3 separate regions of the Homo sapiens genome follow, and regions 1 and 3 are each linked to region 2. Evidence: promoter capture Hi-C in 16 types of primary human blood cells and fetal thymus (Javierre and others, 2016). All regions are on one chromosome and are shown on one strand. The core of a region is centred on a gene start or on the middle of the fragment in contact, and the rest is flanking DNA. Distances in the headings are between cores, read along the strand shown.

The links. The method cuts DNA at HindIII sites, captures the fragments that hold promoters and counts their contacts. A CHiCAGO score of 5 or more calls a contact.
Region 1: a contact is called between a fragment that was not itself captured here and the fragment with the promoter of PIK3CB in region 2, in 1 of 17 cell types (neutrophils). The highest score is 5.6, in neutrophils.
Region 3: a contact is called between a fragment that was not itself captured here and the fragment with the promoter of PIK3CB in region 2, in 1 of 17 cell types (neutrophils). The highest score is 6.3, in neutrophils.

What each region holds. Positions count from the first base shown.
Region 1 is chr3:138,166,810-138,170,392 of GRCh38, forward strand. DBR1 (debranching RNA lariats 1) reads right to left here. Exons shown (of 8, transcript NM_016216.4): 4 at 3,298-3,383; 5 at 272-496. Among named protein-coding and RNA genes, the nearest start is that of DBR1, 6.3 kb to the right of the region's middle. The HindIII fragment of the contact is 4,308 bases long and covers 1-3,583 here.
Region 2 is chr3:138,832,836-138,836,558 of GRCh38, forward strand. It overlaps PIK3CB (phosphatidylinositol-4,5-bisphosphate 3-kinase catalytic subunit beta), which reads right to left and starts at 2,093. Exons shown (of 24, transcript NM_006219.3): 1 at 1,860-2,093. RefSeq lists a silencer at 1,590-2,329. The HindIII fragment of the contact is 25,969 bases long and covers 1-3,723 here.
Region 3 is chr3:139,378,500-139,382,272 of GRCh38, forward strand. COPB2 (coat protein complex I subunit beta 2) reads right to left here. Exons shown (of 22, transcript NM_004766.3): 3 at 881-967; 4 at 548-674. Among named protein-coding and RNA genes, the nearest start is that of COPB2, 9.3 kb to the right of the region's middle. The HindIII fragment of the contact is 7,183 bases long and covers 1-3,773 here.

The DNA of each region.
Region 1 (3,583 bases), core at 756-3,255, 670 kb before region 2:
AGTTCAGCTATCACCTTTTGAAAACCTTCTCTATCTTCATCTCCCATGTTCCCATCCCACCACAGTCTGGCTTAGGTGCTCCCACTGCCTACGTTTTCTCTCAAACTTATTATACTGTTTTGTAATTGCTTGTCTTTCCCAGAATCATATATTGAGCTACTCACAAGAGGTAAGTTATCTTTTACTTCTTTCTCTAACTTTACAACTGTGTCTGGTCCATAGATGTTCAATAGTGTGTGTTAAATGAAAGAATAAACATTTTGTTTTCTACCTGATGCTGCATCAAGGCGGCAAACTTCACATGAAGGTGGGCAGAAAACCAATAAGTAGGTTTGAGATGCTCTAAAAGCTCTGAGGCAGCTGGACTTCCTAATGTGTTATTTTCCACTTCTTGTCGGAAAAAAGATTTAGTCTTAAGAAGTTGCTTCTTATTTCCATAATGATATATACTTCTTGGCCAATCATGAGACAAGAATATATCTATAGGCTGCTTCAGCTTTCAAAAGAGAAAAAGAGAAAGAAAGAAAACTCTTAAAACAGATTAACCAAAACAATCCCCTCCCTTCTCTCTACCACCATACAACCATTCACCCACTGAGATCTCTAGAATTCTGTATAATTCATTCTAAGGACACTTTAAGAGAGTGATAAAAATACTAGGCAACTCATTCATCTAGGCAAAGAGAAGCTGCATTTTCTCTGCTCATAAATCATTCTTATTTTCAGTGGCAAGGCAAGGCAATGGAGACAGACTCTGATTAGACTGCCAGTCATCTAAGATCTTTAGCACTTAGCTTCTAAAATACACGATAACCATAGTTCTTTTCCTCTTTGGTAAAGAAATTATTATTTTGGGCCGGGCGCGGTGGCTCACGCCTATAATCCCAGCACTTTGGGAGGCTGAGGCAGGTGGATCACCTGAGGTTAGGAGTTCGAAACGAGCCTCACCAACATGGTGAAACCCCATCTCTACTAAAAATACAAAAATTTAGCTGGACGTTGTGGCATCTGTCTGTAATCCCAGCTACTAGGGAGACTGAGGCAGGAGAATCGCTTGAACCCAGGAGGTGGAGGTTGCAATAAGCCGAGATCATGCAATTGCACTCCAGCCTGGGCCACAAGAGTGAAACTCCATCTCAAAAAGAAAAAAAAGAAAAAAGAAATTACTGTTTTGAAGATCCAGAGACACTAGATTTCACGAGACCTCTAACATGACTGATTCAGTAAACCCAAAGATTTACCAGGAAAAAAAAAATTCTAATAGGCTCACATAGTATACACTAAAAAACTGTGTTTACTACATAAATTAGTATTTCATTAAACAACTTAAGGAAACAAAATATACTCCAGACTTTACTTATCCCCAGAACCTTCAAGTAATCTGAAACGAATACTTGAAAAATGAAATTAAAACAACTTAAATACCGGCTGGGCACAGTGGCTCACGCCTGTAATCCCAGCACTTTAGGAGGCCGAGGTGGGTGGATCGCCTGAAGGTCAGGAGTTCGAGACCAGCCTGGCCAACATGGTGAAACCCCATCTTTATTTAAAATACAAAAAATTAGCCGGGCGTGGTGGTGGGCGCCTGTAATCCCAGCTACTCAGGAGGCTGAGGCAGGAGAATCGCTTGAACCCAGGAGGCAGAGGTTGCAGTGAGCCAAGATCGCACTGTTGCACTCCAGCTTGGGCAACAGAAGTGAAACTTTGTCTCAAAAAAAAAAAAAAAAACTTAAATAACTGCTCAAGACAATACAAAATATTAGATATTAGATAGATATGACTAACCACTGAATAACTGGTATGGCCAACAGATGCAACAAAAATTCAAACTAGGGTAATGACTCTAAACTAGAGAAGTCATGGCTGGCTGGGCATGGTGGCTCATGCCTGTAATCCCAGCACTTTCGGAGGCCAAGGCAGAAGGATCGCTTGAGTTCAAGAGTTTGAGACCAGCCTGGGCAACATGGCGAAACTCTGTCTCTAAAAAATATGAAAAAAATTAGCTGGGCGAGGTGATGCATGCCTATAGTCCAAGCTATTCGGGAGGCTGAAGTGGGAGGATCACCCAAGCCTGGCAGATTGAGGCTGCAGTGAGTCAAGCCATGATCATACTACTGCACTCCAGCCTGGGTGACAGAGTGAGACCTTGTCTCAAAAAAAAAAAAGAAGAAAACTCATGGTTGGGAAATGGCATCTAAGTTGGGTCTTAAAGGACTGGTAGGATTTAGATAGGTGAAAGAGAAAATCTATTTAAGGGAACTGTATGCACAGGGCATAAAAGAAACACTTGCAAGAATTGTTAGACTCCTGCAGAGGCTCTAGAGACAGTGTGATGGGCATGAGTGCAGTCAGGCAGGCTCTACCACTAAACTTTGGGAAGTCCTGGGCAGGTTACTTACCTGTCTGAGCCTTGGCTTCTCATCCTTAAAGGGATGAAGTTAAGAGTTACATCTATTTCATAGGGTTTGAGTGGAGATTATATGAAATACCAAGTGTGAAGTCTGTTTAGCCCAGTGTCAGCCATGTAATGGGTTCTCAAACAACCTAGTTTCACCTACTCTGCAATTAAGCAGTGTTTCCATACCACCTTCACAATTTTCCCATTTCCTCTATCATCTTTACTATTACTTATTTTCTATTTAATACCATTACTTAATTACTATTACATAAAATAAAATGTTTATTTCAATATTTTCTTTAAAATATCACTTTAACATTTTATTTTAAATATCACTTTAATAGGTATTCTTTAGCCTTAACCTAAGTAATATTTGAAATCATGAATTAAATCTTTCATTCTTACTAAAATAAACTCGTAATTATTGAAGTAAAAAAAATTTTGCCGGGCACAGTGGCTCACACCTATAATCCCAGCACTTTGGGAGGCCAAGGCAGGCGGATCACCTGAGGTCAGGAATTTGAGACCAGCCTGGCAAACATGGTGAAACCCCATCCCTACTACAAATACAAAAAATTAGGCAGGTGTGGTGGTGTGCGCCCATAGTTCCAGCTACTCAGAAGGTTGAGGCACAAGACTTGCTTGAACCCAGGAGGCGGAGGTTGCAGTGAGCCGAGATCGCGCCACTGCACTTCAGCCTGGGTGACATAGTGAGACTCTGTCTCAAAAAAAGAAAAAAAAAAGGTTCATCTGTGAACCTCCTAAAAACTCAAGATCCACATTTTAAAAATACAGAATTGCTCTTCTTGAAAGTAGTATACCAATATGACCAAAATACATTTTGGCACAGAATTACTTTAAAATGTTTTCAAGTCTGCTGTAATGCGCTTTTTACGTACCTGTTTTAATTTATAGACTTCAATATTTCTCACATGATATATACTCCTGATTGTAGATGAATTATAAGGGGGGCACTCAAAATGACCTTAGATTGAAGCAGAAAAATAAGCTATATTTAATTTCCTTAAATACTGCAAATACAAAGACATATACACAGGTCTCCAAAATATCATGTACACCTTCAATATATACGATTTTAAAAAGTTATCTAGGGAAATTTTTTAAAAAGATGGTGGACTGCAGTCTCCTTCCTTTGCAGGCTCAAATAAGGGTGTATCTGCTTTC
Region 2 (3,723 bases), core at 843-3,342:
AAAAAAAAAAAAAACAAAATTGAAAGATTGGCCAGGCGTGGTGGCACGCCCCTGTAGTCTCAGCCACTAGGGAGCCTGAGGCAGGAGGATCGCTTGAACCCAGGAGGCGGAGGTTGCAGTGAGCCAAGATGGCGACATTGCACTCCAGCCTGGGCGACAGACCGAGACCCTGCCTCAAAAAACAACAATAATTTTTTTTTAAAAAAGAAGCAAGATTCGGTCTCAAAAAGATTTTTTTTTTTTCTTTTTGAGACAGGGTATCCCTCTGTTGCCCAGGCTGGAGTCCAGTGGTGCCATCTCGGCTCACTGCAACCTCCGCCTCCCGGGTTCAAGGGATTCTCCTGCCTCAGCCTCCCAAGTAGCTGGGATTACAAGCGCCCGCCACCACGCCCTGCTAATTTTTGTGTTTTTGGTAGAGACGGGGTTTCACCATGTTGCTTGGGCTGGTGTCGAACTCCTGGAATCAATTGATCCGCCCGCCTCGGCCTCCCAAAGTGCTGGGATTACAGGCGTGAGCCAACGCACCTGGTCAGAAAAAAGACTTTACTTTCTTCCATACCTGCATTCTGAAACTGGGTTAAGATCCTTATCTGACCACCCTTTCCTGTGCTACATTATTATGACTTAAACAGTTCTGCTTTTACCATAAAATCTTACAATGTAGCATAAAAATCCCCAAATGATTAATGAACTGCTGAGACCTCTGACTCGTTGGAGACAATTTTATTACGAATCATATCTCCAAACTTCCATTCAGTGCTTCAAAATAAGTACTCATTTAATTATCATGACTTCACCAGACAGTCACACTGCCCACAATGATGTTTACAAAAGCACTTGTCACTCCCTTTGGATGTAGCAATGCAGAAAAAAGAGTCTGTTTCCATACTCTTCGTGTGTTTATAACTCTGTAACAAGTGGCAGAGTTCAAGTGTCACTTGAGATGAAACAGCAAAGCACTTCAAGTTTACGTCCCACCATCTTTCATCCTAAGCGAATCCCGAATTTGCTCGGTTTCATTTCAGCAGTAATTCCCACTCAGTACCTGAGACAGGGTTCCAATTCAGCCCTGCGGGAAGAGACTGCAGGATTCTAGTAAGGGACTATAGGATTCTATTTTGGCCACTGCGAGGTTAACAGGCTCCAATATTAAGCAACTCCAGTATCGGTTACTGCAACACCAGAGCAGATCGGAAATAAATGTGCCCCCAAACGCACGCCAGCAGCCAGGAATTAGCAATAGCTAACACGAGATGCTGCAGCAGGGGTATCATTTACTTAGCACTTGTTCAGTTATGCCTAACCTCACAACAACCTTATGGTGTATGTATTATTATTTCCATTTAACACATCAGGATATTTTGGCCCAAGGCCCCAGGACTGGTCAGCAGCGGCGTTGGGATTCGAAAACATGTCCATAACCTAATAACCCTGGGTCCACGCCTCTGAAATACACTTCTGCGCAAAAAGGCACCTGAGGGTCGGGAAGTTCCGGAGGTGTCCGCATAGACGCGGGGCGCGAGTACGCCGTCTCTCCACAGAAACGCCCCTCAGGAACGGGACCCAAAGCGACAGTGACCCGGGACGCCCGGCAGCGTCTCTGCCGCCCAGGGGCCGGGGGGCGCCACTCACCTTGGAGAGCCCAGGGCGGGCCGCAACCAAGCCAGACGCCCCCACCGGCCGGTAGGCGGTTATCCTCCAAGCTGGCAGGAAGCGCGGTGCAACCACAAGAGTCGCCAGCGCCGCAGGTAGCGGCAAGCTAGAACGCACCGCCAGCACGCCCGGGGGCACCGCAGCCGGCGCCGCGACCCAGCCGCCCCTCAGCCGCGCCGCATCCGGGTCCCGGCCGCCGCACTCACCTGCCTGGCGTTCCGCCGCCGCCGCCTGCTACTATTCCAAGTGCGCAGTCAGCAGCCCAGGCCGCCGCAACCGCTCCACTCCGGCGCCCCCATCCCTGCCTCTCTCGATCACCTCCCGCCTGCCCCGCGCAGCACTACACTCGCCCCCTCCCCACTGCCATGGCCCGCTCCGCCGCAGCGCCGCACAGGCCGACAGAGCACGCGCGCGCCGCCGCCGAACCCGCGCCCGTGTGCGCGCGCGCCAGCCTCTCAGGCCTGCATCCCAGCAGCCCCCGCCCCGCCCTGCGCCGCCCTCGGGCCAATCCCGGGCCCCGCGGTGGCGGCGGCGGCGGCGGCGGCAGTTGGGCTGGCAGGGTGTGGGGAGAGGCCTCACTGCCGATTCCTCTACCGTTGCCAGCCCGGCTGCGACGCTGCTGCACGGCCTTTCCTAACTCTCTTTGCGACTCCCAGAGGACTGCGGAATAGGGAATCCCCGGCAAGTCGCCTTCAGGAGAGACCCATCACCCGCTGCGGCCTCCATAACCTCCTCCCGAGAGATTCCGCTCTTCCTAGGTTCCTTGCTGGCCTTTTCTTCCCAGCCCTTCTCCCTGTTCTGCGACATGGACTGACTCCTAAATTCTTGGACGCAGCACTTATTTTTTTCCCGATACCCGTCTCCGTCTTTCACTCCCTTTGTGAGGATAGGGCGCTAGCTCGGCTGCCTCACAGCTGGCCCTTCAGTCCCTACACTGTGAATGGTTGTTTCTAGGGAAAAGTCCAGGCTTTCAAGCCCAAGATTCTTGTTCTTTGTTCAATTTTGCAGTAACAACACCTAACATTTGTCTGCAGAGCCTTAAACTTTACCCCTTTTTGCCTACCTTGTTTCCTGTTACCTTTGACCCCAACCGCGAAAAATCACAGTCCTCTTTCTAGTGGGACACTTAAATTTTACTTACTGAAAACCAACATTTTAACTCACTCCAAAGCTAGTATATTCTAACGTAATGCTCCTATATTACCCTGGACAAATAGTTGAGTAGTCAGGGATAAAATCTAGAAGTACAACATAATAAAAAGCAAACGTGACAAATCAATTAAGTGACAAACCAATAGTTTATTTGAGAAATGATCCTAGTTTTTTTATTTTTTATTTATTTACTTATTTTGAATGAGAGTTTCGCTACTGTTGCCCAGGCTGGAGTGCAATGGCGCGATCTTGGCTCACCGCAACTCTGCGTCCCCCGGTCAAGCGATTCTCCTGCCTCAGCCTTCCTGAGGATTACAGGCATGCGCCACCACGCCTGGCTAATTTTGTATTTTTAGTAGAGACGGGGTTTCTCCACGTTGGTCAGGCTGGTCTCGAACTCCCGACCTCAGGTGATCAGCCCGCCTCGGCCTCCCAAAGGGCTGGGATTACAGACATGAGCCACCGTGCCCGGCCAATGATCCTGGTTTTAATTGACTTTCGATTTAAAGCAAGAACATTGAAAAATAAATTCCAGAAGAGGCTGTAATACCAACACTTTGGGAGGCCGAGGTGGGCAGATCACTTGAGCCCAGGAGTTCACACCTAGCCTGGGCAATATGGCGAGACTGACAAAAATGACGTGAGTGTGGTGATGTGCATCTGTTGTCCCAGCTACTTGGGAGACTGAGGTGGGAGGATAATATGAACCCAGGAAGTCGAGGGAAGTCGAGGCTGGTGTGAGTCGAGATAGCACGGTAGCACCACTGCACTCCAGCCCGGGAAATAGAGCAAGACCCTGTCTAGGAAAAAAAAAAAAAATCCAGAAGAATTAAAAAATATAAAAATTTACAAAACAGAAACTTAAGAGGAAAAAAAAATTTTTTTTTGAGACAGTCTCATTCTGTTGCCCAGGCTGGA
Region 3 (3,773 bases), core at 209-2,708, 550 kb after region 2:
AAGCATGACTGAATAGTGATAGCAATGACTATGTAGAGAACAAGCATTTGCCCTCACAAGATTGGTTTTTAAAAAGTTTTTAATTACTTCTCAATTTTTAATTTAAAAACATTTCAAAGAGCTATTACTAATTCAGTGCTACCTCTTTTTCCAGTCCTCCAAGAGGTCTACTATTTATACACAATACCAAGGAGCAAACTAGTTTGAATATAAAGATTGAACTGAATAGGGTCTATGGCAATCTGCCAAAAACTCACTCATCAACATGTAAATGACCTTTCTGTTCAGCAGATGTTTAAACATCTAGACTTGTAGGTCTTCTCTGACAGGAACTGGAGCAATCATTACACAAATCCTAAGTACAGTTGATATTTCATTATAGTACAAACACAAGCAGCATCAATAGCACAGTAATGGATCTAAATAGTTTAAAGGCCGCTTGGAATTAGAATTATATTTGTAACAGCAGTTAAAGCATAGCATGTCTCAGTGAATGAAAATGAATTACCCAAAGAGACGCACATGACCAAAAAAGGTCATCTCTTACCACTGCTAGTTAGAATGAAAGGCTGGGTTGGATGAACAGCAATACAGCGAATGTAGTCTGAGTGTGCTTCAAACATATGAACTCTCTCCAGAGTATTGTAATTGAACACTCTAATCTGCATGTCATCCTAGAAACAGAAATTTTAAAACCATCATCCCTGTTATCAAGTAAATTATACAAAAAAACTATATCACAGGCTCAAGGAATAAAGTCTATGCCTCAAAACATTGCTGTAAATAACAAAACAAATCGGGAATCAAAATCCTGCAACAAATTTACACAATCATTGACCAATTCAGAAAATGGGAATAGAGATTCATATTAATTACTTACCGCTCCTGTCACAACCCAATTCTTCCTTGCAACAAACTTTGCAGCTCGAACAGGAAGATCACATACTTCAAATGTCTTCACCAGTGTCTTTAAAATGTAACAAGAATACACAAATTGAGCTATAAGAAAATAACCACAAAATCTACTCTGTTATATTTCAAACATCCAATTTTTAAGATCACTTCTCATTTTAGTATATTCTCAGGCTAAAATATAAAAGCTCAACATTCAAATTTTTAAAAAAGACCAACTATCTTTTAATAGATTCGAAATTAAAACACTTTTTAAAAGATAAGAGAAGGCAAATATCCACAAGATGGTATTCCAGATCCTCTGTGCTCCAGCCCTTCCCTCCCTTTTCCAGCCTCACCTTTGGCTACTCCCAGCCTCACCTCTGCTCTTGTTGTCTCTGACTTGAAAATCCACCCATGGAAACTTGTACTTCCCTTTCATAATGTAGCACCTCATAATTATGTTTAGTGCCAATCTTTCCTGCTAAGCTCTCCAAAGGCAGGAATATTTTTCACACTGTATAGGCAGAGGATAGAACAGTGGCTGGCACACAAGTAGTGTGTAATAAATATTTGTTGAATGAATTAGCTCTTAGTTTCTTTTTTTCTTTTCTTTTTTTTTTTTTTTTTTTTTTTGAGACAGTCTTACTCTGTCACCCAGGCTGAAGTGCAGTACAGTGGCACAATCTTGGCTCACTGCGACCTCCGCCTCCCAGGTTCAAGTGATTCTCATGCTTCAGTTACCCAAGTAGCTGGGATTACAGGTGTGCACCACCATGCCAAGCAAATTTTTGTATTTTTCGTACAGACGGGGTTTCACCATGTTGGCCAGGGTAGTCTCGAACTCCTGGCCTCAAGTGATCCACCCGTCTCAGCCTCCCAAGTGCTGGGATTACAGGCGTGAGCCACTGCACCTAGTCAGTCTTTTTGAAATTGAAACCCATAAAAGTGACTCATGAATAAGGTACAATTCTTTTGCATGCTTTAGCAATATGATTCCATACAAATGTTATTATTTCTTTTTAATAAAATATGAAAACACCGTGACTTATATGTTCCTCCGAGCTGCTCAGAATGGAATTATACACATAGGATAAAGGTAGAGACCCTCCTAGAAAGAGCAGAGATCATGGTACCTCTTTGTTCTCCTTCTTTGATGCCTGTTCTTAAAAGTCTGAAAGTCAAACTATCATTTTCTAATCCTTTTTTGTATCAGAGAGCAAAAATGAAATAACTAAGAAACACAATATAATCTTACTGATTGATTAACCATGTGCACTAAAAAAGTAATAGGGACCGGTTCATAAGAACTGTCCTACTCTGACTTTTCAAGCCAGAGTTCAAAGATTCTTTAGACAAAGGCTGAATGAGTAGGCACTTCAACTCTAACCTGTAGAATCACTACCAGCTGACTATGATACAGAAACTGAGAGTAGACACAACATGCGATCTATAACACGGCAGAAAAATCCACAAAAGCTCATGAGGAGCCAACAAATCCAGGGATCTGCTGAGCAGTAAAAATAAAGCAGCTGCAGAAGAAATAGCCAAGGTTCAACGCCATGTTAGGGGCTATGACTGATGCAAATAAAGAGTAAGAAAAGCTACACACACAATACATACAAATACTCAACGTAGATTAGGAAAGTATAACTAATGACTAATACTTATATGGTACTTTATAGGTTTCATACACAATTTTATCTAATTTTATTTTATCTTTTTGACAATCCTGTGATGTAGGCAAGGCAATAATATCATCTTCACTTCAGATAAATAAAGAGGCTCAGCATGGTTAAAAGGCTTGCCTATATAATTTAATCAGCAAGTTGGCTTCAAATCCTAAAATACTATGTTTTTTAAACCACTGCATGTACCACCTCAAAGAATATATAGCATCTCCTTATTTGAAATTCAAGTACATCTAAAAACCTTTTTACTTCCAAAAACCTTTTTGGCTCTCTCAAGAATTTGCTCTCAATATAGGAGTGGTAAATGCTGTTGGTGATATAAACACAGGGAAAAAACAGGGAGAATCAAAGACAGATTAATCATTCAACAAAGACTTACTATCTACCAGGAGCCTGACAGTGTATCAGGTAGTGCCTCATGCACTGGACCAACAGTGGGAAATAAGATGAGGGTAATCCTTGTCCTCACAGAACCTCCATTCTTAGAGGAAAGAAGGAAATTAAACATGAAATTACCACTGAGATGAATTATGAAAGGGGAAGCAGATGGTCCTGTCATAGGGCAGAAAAAGGTATAGAAGAGAAAAAGGAGGCAAAGTGGAAATGCAGATAAAGCAGAGATATATTACAATAAAGCCTAGAGAAAGATAAGAAAAGTACGCCTGGGCTTTAGAACATACGATGATCAAGTGATAGAGCTGAGATAGGTAAATGTAGCTGATAAGAGGGAATCCCTAGGAATAATCAGAGAGAGAGGACACCAACGTATCTGTTAAACATAAAATCAGAAATATTTTAAACATCTCAAGAACTAAACAAAAAGCAAAAAAAAAAAGTTATTTGCATCAAAGCAAAAACAATTCACAAGATAAAGATCTGAAATTGTAGAGAACACAAATACTGAACTAGTGATAAGTGAAATGCATATTATTCATTGGTTGAACAAATAATTATTGAGCATTTACTATGTGCCAGGTAATGTTATAGGTACTGAGATACAGCAGAAAACAAAATGTTAATTTATATAAAATGTCACTGATGGACTATGATATGGTTTGGATTTGTATCCCCACCCAAATCTCATGTCAAATTGGAGGAGGACCCTGGTGGGAGGTGATTGGATCATGGGGGTGGATTTCCCCCTTGCCGTTCTCGTGATAGTGACTTCTCATGAGATCTGATGGTTTAAAA